Linked DNA regions of Homo sapiens: region 1 is linked to region 2. The links are contacts of gene promoters, found by promoter capture Hi-C in human tissues and cell types (Jung and others, 2019). All regions are on one chromosome and are shown on one strand. The core of a region is centred on a gene start or on the middle of the fragment in contact, and the rest is flanking DNA. Distances in the headings are between cores, read along the strand shown. Region 1 has its middle 55 kb from the start of LINC02131. Region 2 holds the start of ADAMTS18 (ADAM metallopeptidase with thrombospondin type 1 motif 18).

Region 1 (5,866 bases), core at 1,774-4,273, 100 kb after region 2:
AGATAAGAATAAACATCGGTTAAAAATGCACAAAAAAAAAAAACAACAGAGAACAAAAAATGCCTTGAGAAATTAAAAAGTATGTCTGTCCATCCCCATCCCCAGAAGAGTCTACAGTAAGGTTAAGGAAGTCTTCAAGAAAATAAACTGAAAAGACAAACAGGCACAAGGAAGGGAGATATATCTATTTCCTCAGACAAGTGACAGTATCAACACAGAAGTTACGATATCTAACTTAGAGCATTTTCAAAAAGGTGACAAAGAGAGTATCTATTTCTAAATTTCACCAAGATGCTCTTTGGCATAGGTATTTTAAAATTCATTATGAAGGATCATTGGTCGATTTTCCTACCTGAAAACATGGTGAAATTAATGAATACAGCTATAGGTAAACTAGAAAATGTACTCATCAAAATTGATAACAAGAGCCTCAAAATCTCAAATTTTTTAGAAAATGAAAAATTGAAATGAGATTTTCTTTTTTACTTATCAAATAAACTAAGCTTTTAAAAGTTGAAATGGTCAGTTTGGGCAAAAGAAGACTGGAATAGATACGGTTATTCTCTTTTCATAAGAGTGCAAACTGATAGAAATTATCCAGAAAAAAAAATTTATAACGTGCATAAAATCCTTCAAAAAAAACTCATGTCCCTTGCTTTCCTCTAAATCTATCTATCCTAAGAAAGTTAAACTTAAATCTTTTTGTAACAAAAATATTTACACAGACAAAGAAAGGGGAAAAAACTCAGACAGAGATATATGTAGAAAAATGTTTATTATTTTGGCATAAACATGGGAAACAATCTAGACATCTAACAAGTAGAGCAATTGTTTAAACATTATGGTTCATCAGGTAGGCCATCCAAGAGGATATTTTAACAGACTATTTCATGAAATGGCAAACGGCTATTGATAAAAAGTTGGATGAAAAAATCAGGATTCAAACCAGCATACACAATAGGATACTGATTAAAATTGTATGATACACATGGAGAGAGAGAGAGAGTGTTGTGGGGGAGAGAGAGAGAGAAATTCTAGGGATTGGGAGAACACTTCACTCCCAACTGTTAGCAGTGAATGTTTCTGACTGGTTGGACTATGGTTAATTTTTGTTCTCTCTTTGAATTCTTTTTTTCCCCAAACACTTAAATGAGTTTTGGGGGGGGGAAAAAACGTATCATTTCTAAAATAAGAATAAATAAATGTTTTATAATTTTGTTTTATGTTTAATCATTTAATTCTAATAAATTTTATTTGGGAGATTTGAGAGTTTAATAAATGACCAACTAATGAAATTCACAGACAAAACTCATGAATCTGTTTGGCCGTGTCCATCCAGGCAGAGTAAAGGAGAAAGAGTAGAGAAATAGGCCAGGCGCGGTGGCTCACACCCGTAATCCCAGCACTTTGGGAGGCCGAGGTGGGTGGATCATCTGAGATCAGGAGTTCGAGACCAGCCTGGTCAACATGGTGAAAACCCGTCTCTACTAAAAGTACAAAAATTAGCCAGGTGTGTTGGCGGGCACCTGTAATCCCAGCTACTCAGGAGGCTGAGGCAGGAGAAGCTTGAACCTGGGAGGCGGAGGTTGCAGTAAGCCAAGATTGCGCCACTGCACTCTAGCCTGGGCAACAAGAGCTAGACTTCATCTAAAAAAAAAAAAAAGAGTAGAGAAATAAAGGACGTGGCAGTGGCGGTGGGTGTATGTTTTTGGGGAGGTGAGGGAATGAGGAAGGCAGGGAAACAGAGTTCTCTGCTTCCTTTGCAAGCCTGATGAATAGAAAGGTATCAACAGGGTAACAACTCAATGAAGTTATTGCTATGAGCTGCCTTGGTTTCCTCCCCCAGACACACGGAGCTAAATGGGACTTCAGTGGGAGTCTGCAAGTTCTAATTGCTCTCCTGGCAGAAGCTCTCAGATCTGGCTCAAACACATCAAGAAGGACAATTTCCTAGAAATGGAACAGTCAGGTCTCAATTTCATGCAAGTTTATTCTTTTCAATAAGGCAGTTAAATCACATTTTACATCTGGTACTAAATTAATGGGTTGTATGTTGTTACGGACTTTTCATAGAACCATCTTCACAAGGATTACATATGCATAGAGGTTAAAATCATAGACTTAGGAGTCAGTTCCAGTTTGAGCTGTGTTTCCTCAGGCAAGTTATTTCACCTCTCACATCTGTTTCCTCATCTGTAAAATGGAGACAATCAAAGAGCTTACTTCTTTGGCTTTCTTATGAAGATGACATGAGTTAAAATGCATCAGGTATTTAGAACAGTGCCTGAAAAAGAGAATATGCTACATTTTGCAATGTCTGTTCTATTAAATAAAAATAAGTTGGAAACATTTCTTGGTCAGACCATATCTGACCGTATCATGTTTGCATCAGGAGACATGATTTCTTCTCTGTTGTCTGTGGTCACTGTCATAAAACAAACAGGTTTGTTTGTTCATTCAAATGTGAATAAAAAGAAAAAACAAGCAATGGTCAGTATCTCTTTTGACTGCCCCAAGTCCCAAGAAAGGGGAGACAATGTGGTGTTTGTAGGAGCTCACCTAATAGAGTACATGAGGCTGCTACAAACAGGAAGCAGAGGGAGAGGGAAAGCTTGGAGAAGTAGTTGCTGACCTTGGGAGAGACAGGGTGCCCCAAACTTGGAAGGGGACAAAGGTTGGGAGGGCAGCGAGTCATGGAAAAAGAGCCTGCTTCTTGGAAGCATCTAGAGTCATTGATGGGACTTCAAATAGTATTGATGCAGTGAGGAAGAAATACATCATCCCTGGCCTTCAGGGCTGAGGTTCAGGCTGCAGGTGTGAAGAGGTGGGTGGAGAAACCTGTAAAGATGCCTCGTCATAATAAGGAGGTGGAGCAGAAGGAGACAGCCATTTATGGAGCATCTCCTTTGTCCTGGGTGCTCTCCCAACTTACAAAGTAGGATCATCTTTCCCATTTCAAAGATGAGCAAATTAAGATAACTTCCCAAGGGTCATGTAGACCTGGATTCAAATTGCAAGTATTCAAATCCTTGATTTTCTATCTGTCCAGACTCTGCACCTCTCCTGGCCACCCATTATCAGTAAATCTTGAAGCTGCAGGATAGTAAGTCAGTCAAGATGAGGCAAGGTTTGACCTGCCTACCTGGTCATTTGCAATCCTCCTGTGATTTAGCCAAAATCTCTACTTGGTCCTCCTGGGGGAGTATACAGAGGAATATACCATAGATTTCAGAATTTGCATGCTATTAGGGATCAAGGAAAGGAAAGGAAGGGTGAGAACAGGCTGGATAAAATCCTAATACATCAGCCTTCATCTCTGTAGAGGTCCTGTTGATTGCTGCAAAGAGTACAGGCTTTGGCATCAGAGAGCGTGCGGTTGAATCCCAGCTGGGATTATAAATTGTGTAATATAGGGTCAGTGAATCTCTCTATCTGAGCCTTATTCACTTTCTCTATAGTATAAATTACTATCATTTCCATTTCACATAATACCCTGTGCGGGATGAATAAGACAACAGAGTGAGAGGCTTAGCTTGGTGCTTAACTAATATTAAGGCCCTCCAGCTCTTCCCCAAATGTATATCCATCCAGGTTTTCTTCTCCCCACCAAGACAAGGAACCTGATCTTAAAGTGTGTGCCTCATGCCCCTGAGAACTACACTGTGCTCAACATCCACACAGACATGTCTAAACCAGGTGGGCTCTTTAAAAACCTCCCTAACCCCTCACTGAAATTCCCAGTAATTATTTTAAATGACACAAAGAGAAGAACAAGAGGACATGAAGACAAAGACTGTTAGTTTTTCTAATAGCTGAAAAAGAAAACAAAATGAAGAAAAATAGTCCCCACGAAATTCGTATGGTAAAAAATACAAACCATGTTGTCTTTAACTGGGTTCATATAGTAAGTTCAGACTGTACTCGGGACATATATACCTTGTAATTGTTCAATAGCTTCAGCCTGGACAGACAGTGTTAATCAGTTTCTGCTGCTTGCTCTCAGCTGTGGCTTTGGCGAGTGAGAAAAGATAAATTCCCAGAGTTGAAAACTGAAAAGCAACACTGTGCAATCATGAGAATTAAGGGAAAAAAGACAGTCTTGGTTTGAGTTATTGTATATTCCTGGGGAAGCTGTGCAAGGACTTTCCAGCTGTGAGCTGCTAGGAGAGTCTGGGCCAAAATGCTCACAGGGGAGCTACATGGACTGCTGCAGTAGAAGGAACAGAGGCAATGGATAGACAAATGGTTCTCAGCCAGGGTCAATTCTGTTCCCTGGGAACACTCGACAATGTCTGCAGACGGTATTGATTGTCACGGGGGTTGGGGGATGTACTGCCGGCATCTAATGGGCAGAGGCCAAGGATGTTGCTAAATATACTGTAATGCACAGGACAGCCTCCACCCCTGCAAACCCCTCCAAGAAAGAATTTATCCAGCCCCAAATACCCATAGTGCTGGACTTGAGAAACCTTGAGCAAAACATACAGACAAATGCAAGCTCATTACTGTGGGCAAGAGACAAGCTTTGACATTCAGACTTAGCATTTAAAACCAAATCTTGTTTCTTATAATGGCACTTCCCTCCTCAAAGCCACATATGAATTTGTAGCCTCCAGTCTATGTTTCTTTCTTTTCTGTCCATGAGAGTGGAAACACATTATTTGTCAAGTCCTTAACATGCCACATACTTTTCTAAGTGCTTTACAACATTGTCTACTAACTCTAATTCTCATAACTCTGTGCAGGATTTATGATGATCATACCCATTTTACACACCAGGAAACTGAAGCTCAGAGGGATTATGTAAATTGTCTAACTATGTAGTAGCAAAACCAGGATTTAAATGCAGCCCTGTCTGATTCCAAAGTATCAACTCCTAACTCCTCAGCTCTTCTTGCAAAACTTAACCTTACAGCTTAGCCAAACCCAACAGGTCACTGAACATCCCTGACCTTTGTCCTCCTATGAAATGGAGATAATCACAGCTTCATAATGTTGCCTTTTATAAAAGGGAAGAACCTAGCATGGTACCTGGCAATATCATCATCTAGGTTCCCTAAAAGGCTCAAGCAGACAATTCCCATATGATCACACCCAGGAATGTCCTACAGTTGCAAACAAATTGGACTAGAGGTCCCCAGACCTTCTTCTAGTTCAGAGATTCCAGATTCTAGCCAAAACTTAGCAAATCTTCAGCACTTGACTCAAACCCTCCTCTCCTCCCGTGGTTACCTGATACTTTGCTTGCCCTCTACAGCACAGGTGAACTCTTTCTATAAAACCAAAGTTTCTTCCTTTTTGCACTGAGCTCCAGACAGTATTTCTTTTTATGTAAGATTGTAGAATTTAACTTGAAAGCATTCCATCATAAGTGTCTTGAAATGTGAATTTCATCGCGTCCATTTTTGTTGTCACGCAGAACAGATTATATACCATTGTTGTAAGTGATTAATACATACATATGAATGATTTGGCTCAGGTAAGCAGCAGAAGTAATAAAGCTTGATTGTGTACTAAGTGATTTTGGACACTTGATCTCATTTGGTCCCCATGATAACCTGTACTGGGTCAAAACAGCATCACCTGTCCCTCCCATGCCTCTCTTCCCACCCCTTTGTGTTATTCTGAGGATACTTCAGTGGCTTTGTATTCCCTTCACCTACTGTATGGAGGGGAAATAATCTTTTTAGGATTCATTTTTTATCTCTGATAAATACAGAGGTTGAACTCAATCAATGGCTTCCAAATGTTGGTATTTATTTAAAGGATCCTTTCTTTAAAGTCTTATACAGCACCTTCAAATAATAAGCAGAAAGAAGCAGAGCTGCCCTGGTGGAAGAGGGGCAGGGTATAGGGGGTGCTAAGA
Region 2 (5,536 bases), core at 3,000-5,499:
CCCCACATTCTAAAAGGATGTCTTATGTGAGCAGGACACCAGCAACAGATTAGTTCAAAGAAGACAAAAGGCCTCCCTTCAGCAAAGTGAAGGTTGATCTTACCAGTGCTGCTGAATGCAATTTCGCATTGAAATACAGTTTTCCCATTTCAAAGCCATGTAGACGCATGAAGCTTGTTAGATTTATAGAATGCCTGGTCTCCCGGGACATTACAAAGCGAATGGCATCCATCAAGTTAATTTCCTTGGGGATCATCTCAAACATGGAGAATGAAAAGTCCCAGACCATTAAACATCAAAAGATTGTTCTAAATGGTAATTAAAGTTCTATTATATTTTCTTTTTCTGGGAGCACATTAGATTAATTCAATTGAGAATATTAGAAGTATCAAGGCTGACAGTGTGAATGTGTGGAGTTGGCTGGAAGAGCATTTATATTGCAGACATCTGTTCATTCAAGTTACACAAAACACGAAAGAGGGAGCTCAACTCAGACTGGGGTGTACTTACCAAGCCAGCACACGTAGACACAGCGACAGAGGAGGAGCTGTCATTTCTGATAAATCCCTGATAGAAGCATTGCTGCACCTCGGGTTTCTGAGTCTCTGAAGCACCATCTTTTCCAAGTACCTGGACAATAAAGTGACTGCTCAAAATCGCCGAGGGCTTAAGTTCTAAGTGCAGTTCCTGTCCAAATGCTGAAAATCGGTAGTGCAGGGAGCTTCTGGCATTCTGCGCCGATCGCTTTTTCCTGCCGTTGTGCAAAATGTCGTGTGAAATATATGACCCGGCTGAGTCTACTTCTACTGGCGTGACAAAGACGTAATCTGCAATGGGAAAAGTTCAGCTGTCAGCACCCAGAGCCCACAATTCCAAATGGTCTCTTTCCAGCAAGCTGGCAAAGAGCAACACAAAGCTCAAAGATATCTTTGTTCCTATTGCCTTGCACCTAGATCAAATATAATTCAGAGCAGCACAGGCAGCAGAAGACCTGTCTCTACAACTAACTCGGCCACAGTCATTTCTACAGGTGCCCGAAAGCCAAGCACAATTTTGATGAATTTCATGGATGTCTGTGGAAAAATGTAACACCTCTCATTGTCTGGAGAGAGATTTAGAACATTCTTTTGATGTTTAATGGTCTGGGCCTTTTATAATATTGGCCACAGAACCATTCATATATATAAAATTTAATTTTTTTGAAGATAAAGTTAATAAACATAAAACTACAAAATCGGGAAATTTCTTCAAGGAGGTTAATTTCTCTGTGCTTAAACTGAATCGGGAACATTTTGGCAGAGGCAGAGTTTACATTTCAAGTCCTAACTCACAGTGTGGGGTAGCCTCAGATGATATTTCAGATCATTAACAAGCAACAGCATTTTCATTTTTCCAATATTATTTATGTGTGATAAGAAAACTCCAGCACTTGTATCACCCTTAGCATTTTACTGTGAGCTTTCACAGGGATGATCCCATTTAATTGTAAGCATAAAATACAGTGCATGCACAAAAATGCCTCAAAATTGTCAGAACCCTCCTATATAGTCTGATGTATAAAATTGCTCAGGCATGTTGGTGGGGGAGTGTCAGATCAGGGGACACCTGGAAAGGCATGTTTAAAAATACCTTCACCACTGCTCCCTAGAGCAGTACTAATTGCTGAATGTTCCAAAGAGGAGGAGCTAAAATACAATTTGCTATTTGAAAAGCAAAGCCAGCACACTGTTTTCTTTCACCAAACATTGAAGCTGAAAAGCATCATCCCACAAAATGATTTGGAATATGCCCTCTGTGCATTAAAAAACAGCCTGCATTTCCACTTTCAAGGCACAGAATGGGAAACTACTTTGGAAAGTGTTTAGAAAGCTGTTGAATAATGACGAGGTATGTTTGAGTCACTTGGGTCCCCAGTTACTGGAGGAGGAAAAGGAAGAGAAATTTCTCTTTTCCCTAAACAGTCAACAACCTTCCCCCTCCTCCAATAAAAAAAAAAAAACTAAGGAATAGTGGAGCCCCTGTAGCTAGCAAAGATCAATGAGTGATGGCCTAATTAGGCTCACATTAAAAAAGAATTCTCCACAATAGACAATAATTTTCTTCTGTTTATGAACCATCTGTGACTTATTCCTTGGGCAGCTTTCATTTTTATATTCTTTATGTCCTCCCACTCCCATTTTTCTTCTTGACTCCCTCCTTTAACTAAAAATGCTGTATAATTGACATACATATTTTACAATAATGGGGGGAAAAGTTTTTCCCCTCTCTTAACCTTGAAAATCTGAGCCAGACATACAATATTTTTCTTCTCTTAAAAATCTGATACATTGCTTTAAAGGGATGTGGCTCTTGATTATGTGCAATTTCTTAGAGAAAGTCTACCTTCTCCTTCTGTCAAACTAAAACTTAACTATGAAAAAGATTCCTGACATATGCAGGAAGTCTGTGTCTCACCTTCTTGTCCCAAATCATCTGAAACTCTGCCTGCTCTTACTTGGAAGGCTCTGTAGGAACGTTATCCAGCCAGCCTTCTATGGAACCAGCCATCAAACGGCCCCAGACACCTGCTACCAGCTTGTTTCCAAGGGGAGAATAACAGGCTGTCGGTTACATTCGGTTCTTGATGGAAGAAGGGCAGTCAGTGTCCCCTGTAAAGAGTGATCTCTGATTGACCACTTCAGGAGGTGAGTAAGGGTGAGGTCCTTACAAGGTTGTGGCTGGGTCGGACGTGGCCTCCAGCCATCTGATCCTGATATAAGAATGAGGGGTGGTTTTAGAAACTGCAGCCTCTCTGTTTGGACAAAAGGTGAATCCCTTCTCCATGACTCCATCCTGCCCCACTCCCCATTCCCCTGACAAGAAAAGGAGATAACCTTGCAAAACTAAAAATTACAGAATTCTAAAGAATCCAGGTTGAGCTGTAAGGTTTTCCTAGACACCTTGCGTCAGGAATCAGCTGTTCTCCTGTAGCTGATGGGAAACAATCAAAACAAGGATTTCCCTCTGGGCTCCACTGGGAAGTTAATAAATGTCAGAAGTGAGGGATTTTCTGGAAGTTTGTGGCTGGCGAACGTCAGAAAAGATAGATAAAGGACTCAGAGACCTGAAGTCACCTGCTTTCCTCTCTCTAAAAGCAGCCTTAGACATCCGTAAAACAAGGGAAGCAGAAATGAAAAAAAAAGAAGAGATAGAAAAGGAACAGAAGTCGAGAGAAAAATGAGGAAAGATGGAGAGAGGAAAGAGGCTCACATTCTTTCATCTCCCACTAAGAATTAGCTTCCCCCAACAAGAGTTAGGAGAGGGAGGAAATAAGTAATTCCTTAGTTAATGTCCACTTCCCTTCGAATTTCTCACTGCAGTTAGGATTTTTTTTTTTTTCTTGTTCTTCTTAACAAGCCACCTGTGAAGGAGGGAGAGTATTTGCTTTTATGTGACTTGCAGCTCGGGGCGTTGATTCTTTTGATAAGTTCAGTCCTTGCCAACCTTCCCCCCTCTCCAAACAGGAACCATTTCCAAGACAGCGCACACCTGCCAGGTTAGGGGGTGCGCTTTTCCATCTTTTCTCTCTTTGGGGGAAGGAAGGGTCAAAGTGCTGCGAAAGGCCCTTCTTGGGGATGGGGGGCAAATACGAACCATCATTTAATCCGCTGGCGCCGCTGCTGCTGTCACTGGCTAAGGCCGCGGCGACCGACGCACAGCAGAGGCAGCACAGCTGGAGCGCCTGCAAGAGAAAAGGTGACATCGCGCGTGAGGGGCGCGGCGGGGCTGGCGTCGGGCGCCCCCTGCCACCCGCTCTCGGAGCTCCGCTCGGCGGCACCTGCCTTGGCCACGCGCCCCAGTCCCGCCAGGCCCCTCGGCGGGCCCGAACCCGCAGCCGGGAAGGCACACGCGAGCAGGAGGGCGCACTCCATGGTCAGGTGCGGACGCGGCGGCTGCGGGTGGCCAGACGCGGCAGGCGGAGCGCACGGGCGGCGCGCATTCTTTCCGCGGCCCCGGAGCTCGGCGCCCCAGGTGCGGCTCCAGGTGAGAGCCGCCGCCGTTCACATCGCAGCGGGGGCGCGCTGGGACCTCCCCTCCTCCGGCCGCCTGCGCGCCCTCCCTTCTCCCGGCGCGGGCCTGCCGAGCTGCAGTTTGCGGCACCCCAGAGGGTACGGGGGGCTCCCTGGGCCGGGACTGGAGCGCAAACGGTTGGGAGACTGTCGGTGTCTGCCCGCCCGTCTGTGCGTCTGTCTGTGTCGGTGTGAGCGTCTGAGGCGATGGGGAAGACAGCGCCAGCTGGCTCCCCCAGCGCGCCGGAGCCGAGCGCCCGCCTCTCCACCGCGCGGTGATTGGCGACCAGCGGCTCCCGGGCTCGTCCGAGCCCCCGGGCTGGTGCAAGGGCGTGGGATTCCCGGCTCCAGCTCTGAGGGAGGGGGCGAAGGGGGCGGGGAGGCTGGGTGGGAGTGATAGGGAGGGAGGGACCGACCGCCATGAGAAGGAGGGGAGCGCCCAGGGTCAGGCTTGGAAAACGTAATTTAAGCGCACTGGGAGATGAGTTCGGAAGACGAAAGGCTCAGGTGAGTGGCGCGACTTTTTCGCTGCCTGTGCAGACTTCTCATTTTCAACTCTTCTGGCAAAGAGTCAAGATAGCGTCCTCAACACCTCCTAAGTGCTGGGAGCTATCCCCTGCTGTATCGCATTTGCCTCAGGCCCTACCTTTTTCAGGTGGGAATTATTAATTCCTTGATAAAGATGAGGAAAAGGAGGCTCAGATGCGCACAAGCTGACCTAGCTTCCCAGAGTCAGCAAATCTGAGGCAGCCGGGAGGACCAGAACAATGAGCTGTCACTGTCTGCAGCATGTAAAAACTCATGGCACGCGGGGGCCTCCCTCTTCTCCCGGATCTCTCTCTCTCTTCTTGACGTGACCGTGCTTCCCACTCTTCGAGATTGAATCTTGGCCCCAGATACCCAAACCCACAGAAATCAGTTATAACAAACAGCGCACGCCATCACTAGGAATGTGCATCCAGTTTGCTGTGTGCCTGTTCGTTTACTCAAGACATTTATTTGATCCTTTGATCCCTGTTTGCAGAGGTGAACAAAATACAGTCTCACGGGCCAGTGGAAACGAATCTGATTGGATAGCTCGACAACGGTAATAGAAGCAAAATGAACACAAATACTAAAAAGGAAAAGAATAGTCTCCTAAATTAGATGGCAGCAGAATCTAATTTAGATGGGATAAGATGTGTGTGTGTGTGTGTGTGTGTGTGTGTGTGTGTGGGTGTATATATACACACACACATATATATACACACACACACGCATACATACACGTGCAAGGCATCTGTTAGGAGCTGACACTTAAAATAAGGCCAGAGAGAGTGGATCGGTTTTATAAGGGAAGAGGGGAGTAGGATCTTGCATGTTAGGACAGGGGGCACAGCATAAGTGAAGGTCTCAAGGTAGTTAAGTGATTGCCACGTGAAAAGTGTTACAGGCCAGAGGAAGAAGCAAACACAGCAGTTGCTGGGTCAGCTGGACCTTGTAAGCTG

Evidence for each region. The method cuts DNA at HindIII sites, captures the fragments that hold promoters and counts their contacts. A contact is called where the count stands out against the background at its distance.
Region 1: a fragment that was not itself captured here is called in contact with the fragment with the promoter of ADAMTS18 in region 2 in 2 of the 25 tissues and cell types used here (adrenal gland and hippocampus).

Annotation. Positions count from the first base shown.
Region 1 is chr16:77,532,839-77,538,704 of GRCh38, forward strand. No RefSeq gene overlaps it. Among named protein-coding and RNA genes, the nearest start is that of LINC02131, 55 kb to the right of the region's middle. The HindIII fragment of the contact is 3,978 bases long and covers 1,035-5,012 here.
Region 2 is chr16:77,430,785-77,436,320 of GRCh38, forward strand. It overlaps ADAMTS18 (ADAM metallopeptidase with thrombospondin type 1 motif 18), which reads right to left and starts at 4,250. Exons shown (of 23, transcript NM_199355.4): 1 at 3,822-4,250; 2 at 3,634-3,721; 3 at 511-827. The coding sequence starts at 3,911. RefSeq lists an enhancer at 3,946-4,446. The HindIII fragment of the contact is 10,424 bases long and covers 1-5,536 here.